2 separate regions of the Homo sapiens genome follow, and region 1 is linked to region 2. Evidence: promoter capture Hi-C in 16 types of primary human blood cells and fetal thymus (Javierre and others, 2016). All regions are on one chromosome and are shown on one strand. Each heading gives the region's core, a stretch centred on a gene start or on the middle of the fragment in contact. The rest is flanking DNA. Distances are from core to core; before and after follow the strand shown.

Region 1 (6,094 bases), core at 1,317-3,816, 450 kb before region 2:
TTTAATTTGCCAAATGCCAAGTGAGAGGTTCAGATGAGAAGTGCTGCAGGGTGCACCAGAGGCTAGTATGCTTGAAAAAAGATCTAGGCTGCAGTGGGACGTCAACTTTGATGACACTAGAAGGCACAACCCAGTTGGAAGAAGAGGGAAGGCCATTCTAGCATTCTAGGCAGCAGGAAAGTTGTATCAAAAGTAAGCCAGGTGCGGTGGCTCATGCCTGTAATCCCAGCACTCTGGAGGCCGAGGTGGGCAGATCACCTGAGGTCGGGAGTTTGAGACCATCCTGGGCAACATGGAAAAACCCCGTCTCTACTAAAAATACAAAATTAGCCAGGCATGGTGGTGGCGCATGCCTGTAATCCCAGCTACTTGGGAGACTGAGGCAGGAGAATCGCTTGAACCCAGGAGGTGGAGGTTGCGGTGAGCCGAGATATCGCGCCCTTGCACTCCAACCTGGGCAACGAGCAAAACTCCGTCTCAAAAAAAGGAAAAAAAAAAAATGTTTGGAGGCATCTTCTCTTTATAATAGTAATTTAAAGAAAAAAAAAGAAAACATGTTTGGAGCAAGAGTACACATGGTATGATTAGGGCAGCAATGACTAGTTTGCTCCAGTTTGGCTGGAGCAGAGATGTGGCACAGTAGGCTTGTGGCAGGCAAGAGGATCACACTGTGAAGAGCCTTGAATGCAAAGCTAATTCATTTGGTTTCGTCATGTAAAAAAGGGGTCCAGTGACCACATCTTTGAGGACAAAACTCAACCTTTTGCTGAGAATACATTTATACCTGTCAGATCACGTGACTTTGCTTTGATGCCGAGAAAGATTTCACCATGGCAATGGGGAGCCCCTGAAGGTTTTTGAGAATGGTGCCATGTGTGATTATAAAATTAGCCTGGAGTGCGTAGGGCTGGAGAGGATGGAAACCAGGAGGAGGAAAAGTCAGGCCCAGTGTGGTGGCTCACACCTGTAATCCCAACACTTTGGGAGGCTGAGGAAGGTGGATTGCTTGAGCTCAGGAGTTTGAGACCAGCCTGGGAAACATGCAAAACCTCGTCTTTACAAAAAAAATACAAAAGATTAGCTGGGCGCGGTGGCACACTCCTGTAGTCCCAGCTACCCAAGGAGGCTGACGTGGAAGGACCACGTGAGCCTGGGAGGTCGAGGCTGCAGTGAGCTGTGTTTGCTCCACTGCACTTTAGCCTGGGAGACAGAGTGAGACCCTGTCTCAAAAAAAAAAAAAAAGAAAGAAAGAAAGAAGTAGGCAAGTCCTGATGTGGAGGACAGGGCAGTAGCAGTGGAAATGGGGGAACTAGGTGGATGTGGTGGGGAGGAGAATTTGAAAGTGATGCCCAACACCTTGTTGGTGACATGGGCACACATGGAGCTGGTCGAAAGGAAACGTCGGCATTTGACAAGTTCCACTGGGGTGGCTGCAGTGTATTCAGCAGCAAGAAGGAGCAGCCTCAGGCCTGAACTCAGGAGGGAAACAAGGGATGCTGATTCAGATCTGGTAGTGACTGCCCACTCATTCTGGGAGACAGTGACGGGGTTGGCCTCTCTATAGGCTCTGGCTCTTTCTCATCAGCCCATCCTCATCAAGAAACACCCTCCCTCTTCCACCTGAGTGATATGACCTTGGGCCAGGGATTAAGTGGGGACAGATTTCCTTTAAGTACTTCAGTCCTAAACTGGCCTCTAAAATCCAGAAGCATCAAGATCCTCCTCAGTTTCCATAGGTTTGGGCTTAGAATCCATGACCCACTCTTACGGGGCTTGGACCGAAGAATGTGAGGGCAAAAGAAAAGCTCAGTAGTAGGAGGTTCTAATCCTATTTCTGCCCTAGACCAGTCATGTGACCTTGAGCAAGTCACTTTTCCATTTTGGGTTTGTTTTCCTTTCAGGAAAATGCCAGGGTTGGTCCTGGACGAGACTAGTTTTCAAATCCTGCTTCTGAAGAACACCGGGAGCCCGTGGCTGGACCAGGTTCTTTGTCCTAGATCGAGCAGTCTCAGGCTGGGAATAGCTCCAACATTAGGTTTCTCTCCCGTAGCATTTTCTTAAACCGTTAGCAATCCTTACTGTTTCCCAGCAAGGATTCACAGATAAAACAGTGAATGAGGGCTGGGCGTGGTGGCTCACACCTGTAACCCTAGCACTTTGGGAGGCCAAGGTGGGGGGATCACGAGGTCAGGAGATCGAGACCATCCTGGCCAACATGGTGAAACCCCTTCTCTACTAAAAAATACAAAAAATTAGCTGGGTGTTGTGGCGCGCTCCTGTAGTCCCAGCTACTCGGGAGGCTGAGGCAGGAGAATTGCTTGAACCCGGGAGGCAGAGGATGCAGTGAGCTGAGATTGTACCACTGTACTCCAGCCTGGCGACAGAGCGAGACTCCGTCTCAAAAAAACAAAAAAAACAATGAAGGAACAACTGGGAAACGCAAATGAATGGGGAATTGGAAAATGGATGACCATATTTGGTTTGACAGTCTTCTTGTTTCTGGAAACTTCATGGTTATGGTGTTATATTACTCACACCATTGTTCTGGTTTCCAAAGCTAAGTTTCAATGACTTTTCAGCACGCTTCATAGAGGACTCTAGGACTCCCCAGTGCCCATAACCTGAAGAGACTGGAGAAATGCTGGAGGCAACACTCTCCAAGGACCTCCCCAGTGATGATCTTTTGTTTTCTCAGTGATGATTTCTTTTTTTTTTTGAGATGGAGTCTCGCACCTCTGTCTCTGAGGCTGGAGTGCAATAGCGTGATCTCAGCTCACCGCAACCTCTGCCTCCCGGGTTCAAGCAATTCTCCTGCCTCAGCTTCCCAAGTAGCTGGGATTACAGGTGCCCGCCACCACATCTGGCTAGTTTTGTATTTTTAGTAGAGACGGGGTTTCTCCGTGTTGGTCAGGCTGGTCTCGAACTCCCGACCTCGGGTGATCCTCCCGCCTCAGCCTCCCAAAGTGCTGGGATTACAGGCGTGAGCCACTCTGCCCGGCTTTCTCAGTGATGATTTCATAGCTCCTCAGAGCCCATCTTTGAGGAATGCATGCAGAACACTGTGGCTTACGTTCGTTAACTCATATAATCCCCCTTTCATTTTCCCAACAGCGTCATGAAATCAGTACTATTATTATATGCATTTTATAGATGAGGGGCCTGAAGCTCAAATAGGGTTAACTGCTCCCCTGAGGTCACACAGTAAGTGACAGAGCTGGGACTGGAAGCGAGCACTCTGATTCCAGAGCTCCCTTTCTGACCCAGTATGCCTGCAGATCTCTGTCATTCATGCTGTCACCAAGGATCAACAGTTCTTCCTTGGACACGTGGAAAGAATGATCTTCCTCATCCCCTTTGGCTAATGAGATGTGAGCAGAAGTGATGACATTTATCACTACCACATTCCCTGTCCTTCTGTAATAGTTGTAGAAACACAATGAGGAAGCCTCCCTCAACCTGGGTCTCTGTGTGAGGATGTTGTGGAGTAGAGGCCTGCCCTTCCACCCCCACCGCTGATCTGCAATGGGCATGCAGTGTAAACAAGAATTAACATTTGCCATGTTTTTTTTTTCTTGAGACGGAGTCTCGCTTTGTCGCCCAGGCTGGAGTGCAGTGGCGCAATCTCGGTTCACTGCAAGCTCCGCCTCCTGGGTTCACGCCATTCTCCTGCCTCAGCCTCCTGAGTAGCTGGGACTACAGGCGCCTGCTACCACGCCCGGCTAATTTTTTGTATTTTTAGTAGAGACGGGATTTCACCGTTTTAGCCAGGATGGTCTCGATCTCCTGACCTCGTGATCTGCCCGCCTCGGCCTCCCAAAGTGCTAGGATTACAGGCGTGAGCCACCGCGCCTGGCCCCCTTTGCCATGTTTAAGCCACTGAGGTGTGAGTGTTGTTACTGTGGGATAGCCTGGCCCATCCTAACTAATCTAATGCTATACTGCGTCCTGTTGATTATCTTTGGCTTCAATCCCCAAGCCTGCCTTCTTCCAACCCCCTGAAAGCAATGGCTCCACATTGATTTGAAAAGCAGCAAGAGCCAGCCTGGCCAACATGCCGAACCCCACCTCTACTAAAAATACAAAAATTAGCTGGGCGTGGTGGCGGGCGCCTGTAGTCCCAGCTACTCGGGAGGCTGAGGCAAGAGAATGGCGTGAACCAGGGAGGCGCAGGTTGCAGTGAGCCAAGATTGTGCCATTGCACTCCAGCCTAGGCAACAGAGCAAGACTCCATCTCAAAAAAAAAAAAAGAAAGAAAAGCAGCAAGAGAAGAGGGGAGCTAGTCCCCCAAACATAGAAGTGGGGATGTGTTTTGAGAGATAAGCCCATGCTGTACCACACTCTGGAGCAGAGGTTATGCTGAATGAAATCTCCACCCAGCCCTGGAAGGCCACCAACAGACATTCGAGCTTCAAGAAACTTCAAGTTTCTCTCCTATACTCATTTATTGGCTCTCCTTAATTTTATTCCGTGTTTTTAAAGTAGGAACGACTGGGCTGGCAGGAGGAGGGCCGGGCTCTCAAGTCCTGGGGATACTGCAGGCTGACAATGACCTTGCAGGCCTGGATCTGAACATCTTCCTCAGGGTGGATGACCAGGGCAAGTAGTCGGTCTGCCAGTCGGGACTCTTCCCCAAAGAGGGATTCATGCAGGGACTGTTCGTTGTAATGCCATTTCACCACGTGGTAGTGGGGTGCGTTCCGGCCCTCACTCAGCCGCTCAGCAAACACCAGTACCTCATACAGGAGACTCCCTGACTGTGTGGGCTGGAACAGGTTTAGGAAGTTGGAGTGAACCTGTGATGGGAATAGAGAAAGAATGGGAATAAACTCCTAGGCAAGTTACAAAATTCTTGTTCTTGTATATTCCTATTGCCTAAACTCCCAAATATACCTAAATTTCAGACTCGAGTATATAGTAATTTTTTAGTTTTTCTTTTATTATTATCCTCTAATTTAATTGCCTTGTGATCATAAAACATGAGTGATATGATAATATTCATTCTGGAAATTTTGTTGAGACAAATTTTAAGGCTTAGTGTGTGACTAATTTTCTTAAGTATTGTGTGTGTGCTTGAGAGGACTGTGCATTTAATCCTTGTAGACTGTTCTGAGTATGTCTAATGGCTCAAGCTTATTTGTGTTATTCACTAAGAGTATATCCTCACTAATTTTGGCTTTTTAATCTATCAGTTGCTGCAAGAATGGTTAAAATATTCCAAATCTCCCACTGTAGTGGTATATTTGTTAATTTCTCCTTTCAATTTTTGTCGTATATATTTTGAGACTATGTTATTAGGTGCATACAAGTTTAGAGTTGCCCTACTGTTCTGGTGAACTGAACCACTGATTATCACAGAGTAACCTTTTCTATCCCTAATAATGCTCTTTGCCATAGTAATTTCCCCCCAATATTAAAATACCTACATTAACTTTTGTTTTGTCTCCTGTGTTCCTAACTCTCAGAGTTCAGGAAATGCCTCAAAGGGGGATCCCCCTCCCAATAAAATGGAGTCTCCTTCTACTGGGGGGAACAGAAGAGGCATGATTTTCAGTGCATTTAGTGCAGAGGCAGGAAGATACTAAAACAATTCATCAGGGGTAAATCTGTCTGGAGATGCCATGATTCTTCCCTCCCCCTATACCTGAGTTGGCATTCATCAGCCCCTCTTCAATTTCTTTCTCACCTGGCAGTTGAGAATGTCATAGAGAAGGTCATTCTTCTGTGCCAGGTAGCTCAGCAGTCGTACGGCTTGCACCTGAATAAAGGAAAGAGTAAAGCATGAGAAGGCAGGTGAGTCTGGGCCTCAGCAAGGAAGATATAAACCTCTGCTCCTCCCTCTAAGTACTGTGCTAGGGCTGGTCAGCAAGGCAGGGCCTTGGCCATGGTCCTCAGGCACCTGTGCCAGGATGTAGTCTGACTGCAGGATCTCCATCAAGGCAGGCATCACCCGTCGCAGCTGTGGATGCACATAGTCGGGCAGTGGAAGGTTGTTGAGGAGTCTGAGGCCCGCAATGTGCAGTTCCGTGTCCCAGATGGTGGAGATCAGTTCGAGTACTTTGATGGAGTGTTCCTGGAGTGGGGGAGAACAAAAGGG
Region 2 (5,703 bases), core at 2,269-4,768:
TCATTAAATCATCCTCCCCTCCCTACCCACAAATCCTAGCCTGGGGAGACCAGTAGCACACAGGGGTCAGGACAAAGCTAATGATCCTAGCCAGCCAGCAGGTTTTTGGACTGGAGCTGTTCTTAACTTTTCCTCCACTAAGGAGAAGGTGGTTGTCCCTCTCCAGAGGAGGCAAAACCTGAAGCTCATTGATTCTCAGTGGGCAAGAGTCTCACTCTGGGCTCCAGGACTGCCCTGAATATCAGCTGGAGGTGCAGGAGACTGGAAGGCCCCTGTCTACCCTCCCTCCCTTCCCCCAGCTCCTGCCAGTCAAGGAGGAAGTGGTAGGCCTGGTGCCACCCAAAGATCCTCATCAAACCAGAGACACACTGCTCCATCTACATACCCCTTCACCCCACTGCCTGATAGTCAGTGGGGAAGGAGGCCAAATTATCAGCTGATCCTCCACTAGTTCTAAAATCAAAACTGCTCCCCTGGGTAAGAGGGTGTGTTCAGTAGGACACACATCATTCCCAAGGGCTCCCCTCTCTATAGCCCTCTGTCAGGATGGCTACCTTCCAAAGGTTTTTAGAGGCGGTTCTGGGAACCTTGCAAGAACTCACAGCCCTCAACTCCTGGGAAGTTTTGTGTTCAACCTAAATCCATCCTGGGCAGGAGTGCCATTCCTATTGGTTTACTTTCTCTGTTCTCAACCCAACTGGATGAAGCCATTGTACTTTCTACAAGAATTCAAAGAGAGAAAGAAGTATCTGGTTTTTCCCTCAAGCCTTCTCTTTTCCAGGAGAAACAACCCTACTCCTTGGGCTTTTCTCAGAGGACGTGCTGTTCTTCCTCCTACCCTCTGGCCTCATCGTGGGTTTGCCCAGGACAGCCACTGGGAGCCCGTCTACCAACACATTAGGGGAGAAGTGGCAAATGTCACGCACCGACACATCTTGCCCTGGGCTAGTGCAGGTCTCTTGCCAGGTTCCAACCCAGGACCCTAACGCTAGGGATGGTTTTAGTAACCAGCCCAGTGAGGTGGCTCAAGACTATAATTCCAGCTACTCAGGAGGCAGAAGCCAGAGGATCACTTGAGGCCAGAAGTCTGAAACCAGCCGGGGCAACATAATGAGACTCAGGCTCTAAAAAATAAAAAATAAAAAAATTAGCCAGGCGTGGTGGCATGTGCCTGTAGTCCCAGCTACTCAGGAGGCTGAAGTAGGAAGATCGCTTGAACCCAGGAGTTTGAGGCTGTCGTGAGCTATGACTGCACCACTGCACTCCAGCATGAGTGATAGAACAAGATCTCATCTCTAAAACAACAACAAAAAACCAGATTGACTCCAAGGTCTTTTCCCTCATCCCCAAGTCTTTTCTGGGGAGAGGTGGGCCCTGCTTGTATAACTCTCTCGTCTGCTTCCTCCTTTGCCTTTTGACCACTTCTCTATTACTCCTTTGCTTTGCTGGAATCCCCGCCCCCCAACACTATCACTACTTCCTCCTCTTCCAATATTCACTATTATGGGCTTGAAAGGAGCCCCGCCATTTCCGCCCCACCCCCACTTGGCCCCTGAGACTCCCACTGTTAGCCCAGGTTTCCAGAGTTGACAAGTTTTCTGTCAAGTAGGAGGGAACTCTATAATTGATCCTGTGTGACCAGAGATGTTGCTGGCAGTAGGTTCAATATGAGCTGTGATGAGGTACAGACAGTGGACAGTTCAAGCATGCAAGCTCTCCATGGAGTATTTCCCTAGAAATACGCAACCTGTGGGGATGAGGGAGTGGGTAGTGGCCCTTTTAGAGGGCAAGACAGAGGCTCAAGCTAGGAGGCTTTACTGGCTGATGGCACCAGGAAAAGGGGAGCCACTTAAAGGCTGTACTTTCCATGTGAAGGGCAGAGAGAGCCTGGAGAGGTCTCAGTGGCCACAGGTAATACAGAAGTGGAAAATGTTACCCTGGAAGCAAAAAGCCACGGGGGCTGGTATTGTCTGGCAAGATATTAAAGGGACAGGGTGGGAGGTAGGGGTGGGACACAGAGTTTGCAGAAATGGATTTTGGATGATCGACTTTTTTCCATTTATACTGAGGACCCAACCAAATGACATGATCTGCAATACAAGAGATTTAAATAGGATGTAAGGAAGAATCTGCCTGTTAGGAGGTTCTCCCTAGGTGACAAAAGATAGTAGTGGGCTCTCCTTCCTGGGGGAGTGAAATCATCTATTAGATGCTCACAAATCCAGGTAAGGAATTTAACATAGGACCAGTTTGGGATATTCAAGTTCCTCACATCCAAGTTCAGTAAAGTAGGGGGTTGGAACGGTGGTGGGGCACAATAACTGTTCTGTCCCATTCATCTCTCAGGTATCCAGCACCCTCTACCTCGGTCATTAAGAATGGAGGTTTCCTTGAGACCACACGTCTCCTTTGGAGGATGGGGCAGGGAGACACCAGTTTAGTGCCTAGCCACATGCCAGGCACAGAGCCTCACGAGGGGCACTCAAGTACTTGCAGAGTGAACGAAGGCACCCCTATGGCAGGTCCTAGAGAGCTGAGGCCTACCTTGCTCCTTTCCCCCAGTGTTCGCTGATTCTAGTGGCTGAGGGCCTTGCTTCCTCCCCACTAACTAGGGTAGGGAAGGCAGCACTACTGGAGGACTAGAGGAAGAGAGAGAAAAACTCCTTGGCCTCCCAGAAATTGTCTAGGCCAGATGATTGACTTCAGGACAATCATTGATTGGGATTTTCCTGGGCTTAGATTCTCCCCCTTCCCTACCTGAGGTCTCAAGGCCTAAGGTAAGTTTCCCAACCTGATATGTGTGGTGGATAGGGGGGTGAGCTGCGTAGCAGTATAATAGGGTCCTCAGTCCTCACCCACTCCGCAGCTCTGTCCCACCTGGCGGGCAGGGTTAGACAGGCCAGACAGGTTTGGGACTGGGGGCGGCCCCTTTATGCCTCTCTCAGCTCCAGAGGAAATGACTGCCAAGCACTGGCTAACTGTTTCTCTTGAAAGTCAGGAGGAAGCAGCAAGAAAGAGCACACTGCGTGCCCAAGCATGACTCTGTGGAGGTGTGTGTGCTCATCACACAGAGTCTGGGATGTGGCCTGGCTCCTGGCCCTCAGAACCCCATAATGGCCCTCAGAACCTCCTGGCCTCCAGTTGTGGGGCCCAGTTCTGCGCAAGGTTTCTGCACACACTTCACTAGGTCTCTGGAGGGTGGGCAGCGGCATCTACCAGGCTACGTTGGCCCAGTTACCCAGGACCAGCCCCCCGACCCCAGGCCCGGGACGCTGGATGGCTGGGTGCCCCTGGAGTGGCACAGTGTCCACACCTGGCTCCCAGGCGGCAGGGGCTGGTGTGGTGCATCTGCCGTCCTCCCCCGGGTCCCGGGTGCCCCTCACCTTGAGCTGGGACTTGGAGACTTTGCCACTCTTCTCCACGTCCAGCGCGGTAAAGGCGTACCAGATGGACTTGAGCAGTTCCTTGCGCAGGGCCATGGCTGAGGCGCCCGCCCGGCTGGGGGCGGCTCTGACACTAAGATCCGGTTTCAGGAAATGCAAACGGCTGCAGAGACCGCAGAGGTGCCGTGGTGGAGCGAGAGCACCACCTGCCTGCACATTGCGTGAGGCTCTGTGCTGTCGAGAACCCTGCCTGTTGTTCTGGCAGTGCTCAGAGGCTCCACTCCCTGCATGGGAACTGGGGACCAACTCTCCGAGAGCGGGAACCCTCGTTCTGTATCCACGTGGCTCCCGGGGCATGTGAGGCCCTTTTAGAAGCCTCCTCAGACCCGGAGGCTTCTGGAGCCTTCCAGGGCTCCCAGACGCAGCTTGCTGAGGGAAAAAGCAAGCTCATCCTGATATTGGGGTCAGACAGAGTAAAGGTCCAGTCCTAGTTCAACATAGGAGGCCTTGGGTAAGTTACTTAACCTCCTTGAGCAGTTTCCTCATTTGTAAAGCAGGAAAAATGCCTCCGTGTTGTAAGAATGTCTGAGAATGGACGTAAAGCACATAGTAGGCTCTGGGTAGAGCTTTTGGTGCTACTTAACATTACCATGGTGGTGGGACTCCATCCAAGTGGAAGGAAACAAAGGCAACATCACAAAGCTGGAGAAGGAAATGGGCCAGGGCACCTCTCCAGGTCAGGATGTGGCACTTGACTTGCTGGCTCCCTATCCCCTCAGCACTGGCTCTAAACGGTACTCAGAGCACTGCCCACTCTAGCCCCAGTAGCCCTGAAGACACTGGAAACTTCCTGAAACACATGGGGGTGAGCCTTGTGGTGCACCTCAACTTTAAGGGTCCCAGCAGCAGCAGGCTTGGGATTCAGGGCCCTCCATGTCAGTGCTTCCTTTCTTCAGATCCAGTGTCCAAAAGGACTGGGACACGCCCACACCAGGAATGGTGGTCACAGATGTTGAAGACATCTGCTCAGGCCAATTCTAAGACACCTCCCCCTACCCCCTAAGCCAAATAAAAATCCCTCCAAGTAAGGTGCTGGGAATACCTCCTGCCTGGAAGCACGCCCCCGCCCCTCTCTTCCCAAGGAGCTGGTGGCAAGAGTAAATGGGAGCTTTCTAGGCATCCTGGGAGAGGATGCCTGGATCAGAGGAGGGGGTTCCAATCCTAGGAGGCAGGAAGGGGTTGGGGCATATCCATCACAGCAGAGAGAGGAAAAGAGGCACCACCAATCCCTGCAATGTTCCTGTGTAGGCAGAGTCAAACCCAGAGCTTCTTCCCATCAAGTGCCTTCCCCTGTATCCCTTCTTCCCCCTGGAGCTGATCTGGTCTCACCAACTCACTTTTCAGTGGGGTCTGATTGTGGCTTTGAAATCCCACAGCACAGTCCTAGGCACCTAGGTGGGCACCCCCAGAGCTGGGTAATAGAGCCAAGACTTCAGCTCCAGAGGCATCAGACTCTGCTCCTTGAATCTCAGTAACCTTGGCAAAGGTGTCCCCCAGCCTCACTCTAACCTGGGGCTTTGCCCTCTTGGAGAAGCTGACTGTGTGATTTGGGGGTGGCTGGGTTGGAGGGGCTCTGACTACGTTTCACAAGAAAAGGCAGGAAAAGAGTTCCCCCAGCTCAATCACATGAGGCCTGAGATTCAGCCAGAGCCTGGAAGCAGCGGTCACCCTGGTCCTGTTTGGCTACCCTGGAGCCCACCTGCTCAGCTGTGGGCAAGAAGCCACCAGCAGCTCCTCAGGGCTTTATCTTATACTGGGCTTCCTTCCCACCTGTGTCCCTGGCAGGCCAGCCCCACCACTCTGGCACCAAGGCTGAGTGGGGTTTGTGCCAGGGAGACAGGGCTGATAGCCTGATTTGACCAACCCTGCCACCCGGGCCTAGAGCTGAAAGGATGGAGGGACCCAGGTGGAAATTTGGAACTTTTATTAAATACTCATTCATCCATGTGCCACCACCACCCAGAGCAGGAAAAAAATTATCAAAATGGAATTAAAAAAAACAAAACAAATCAAACCCAATCCCCAGCAGTCTATGTACAGGGCCACTCCCTGCCTCTCTGCCATAGAGAGGTTGGGGGGCAGCTGAGGAGTGGTGGGGGCTGGGCACCTTTTCTTCAGCCACAGGCCCCTGAGGAATTAATTGACTGTGGTGTCAGGAAGTCCCTGGTGCCAAGTAGCCAGGCATCTCAGCTGGCCTCCAGGGAGGTGGTTATTGCTGGGAGGGCAGGACAGGGCCTGCTCCACTGCTACTGGGCTGAAG

What was found. Contacts are between HindIII fragments. The CHiCAGO score rates a contact against its expected background, and 5 or more counts as called.
Region 1: a fragment that was not itself captured here is called in contact with the fragment with the promoter of DEF6 in region 2 in 1 of 17 cell types (non-activated CD4 T cells); the score reaches 6.1 in non-activated CD4 T cells.

The regions. Positions count from the first base shown.
Region 1 is chr6:35,747,237-35,753,330 of GRCh38, reverse strand. It overlaps ARMC12 (armadillo repeat containing 12), which reads right to left. Exons shown (of 6, transcript NM_001286574.2): 4 at 5,897-6,070; 5 at 5,684-5,755; 6 at 4,252-4,793. The coding sequence ends at 4,461. Among named protein-coding and RNA genes, the nearest start is that of ARMC12, 13 kb to the right of the region's middle. RefSeq lists a silencer at 5,659-5,858. The HindIII fragment of the contact is 5,130 bases long and covers 2-5,131 here.
Region 2 is chr6:35,295,633-35,301,335 of GRCh38, reverse strand. DEF6 (DEF6 guanine nucleotide exchange factor) reads right to left here and starts at 3,518. Exons shown (of 11, transcript NM_022047.4): 1 at 3,384-3,518. The coding sequence starts at 3,479. It overlaps ZNF76 (zinc finger protein 76), which reads right to left. Exons shown (of 14, transcript NM_003427.5): 14 at 5,351-5,703. RefSeq lists a silencer at 5,017-5,181. The HindIII fragment of the contact is 28,623 bases long and covers 1-5,703 here.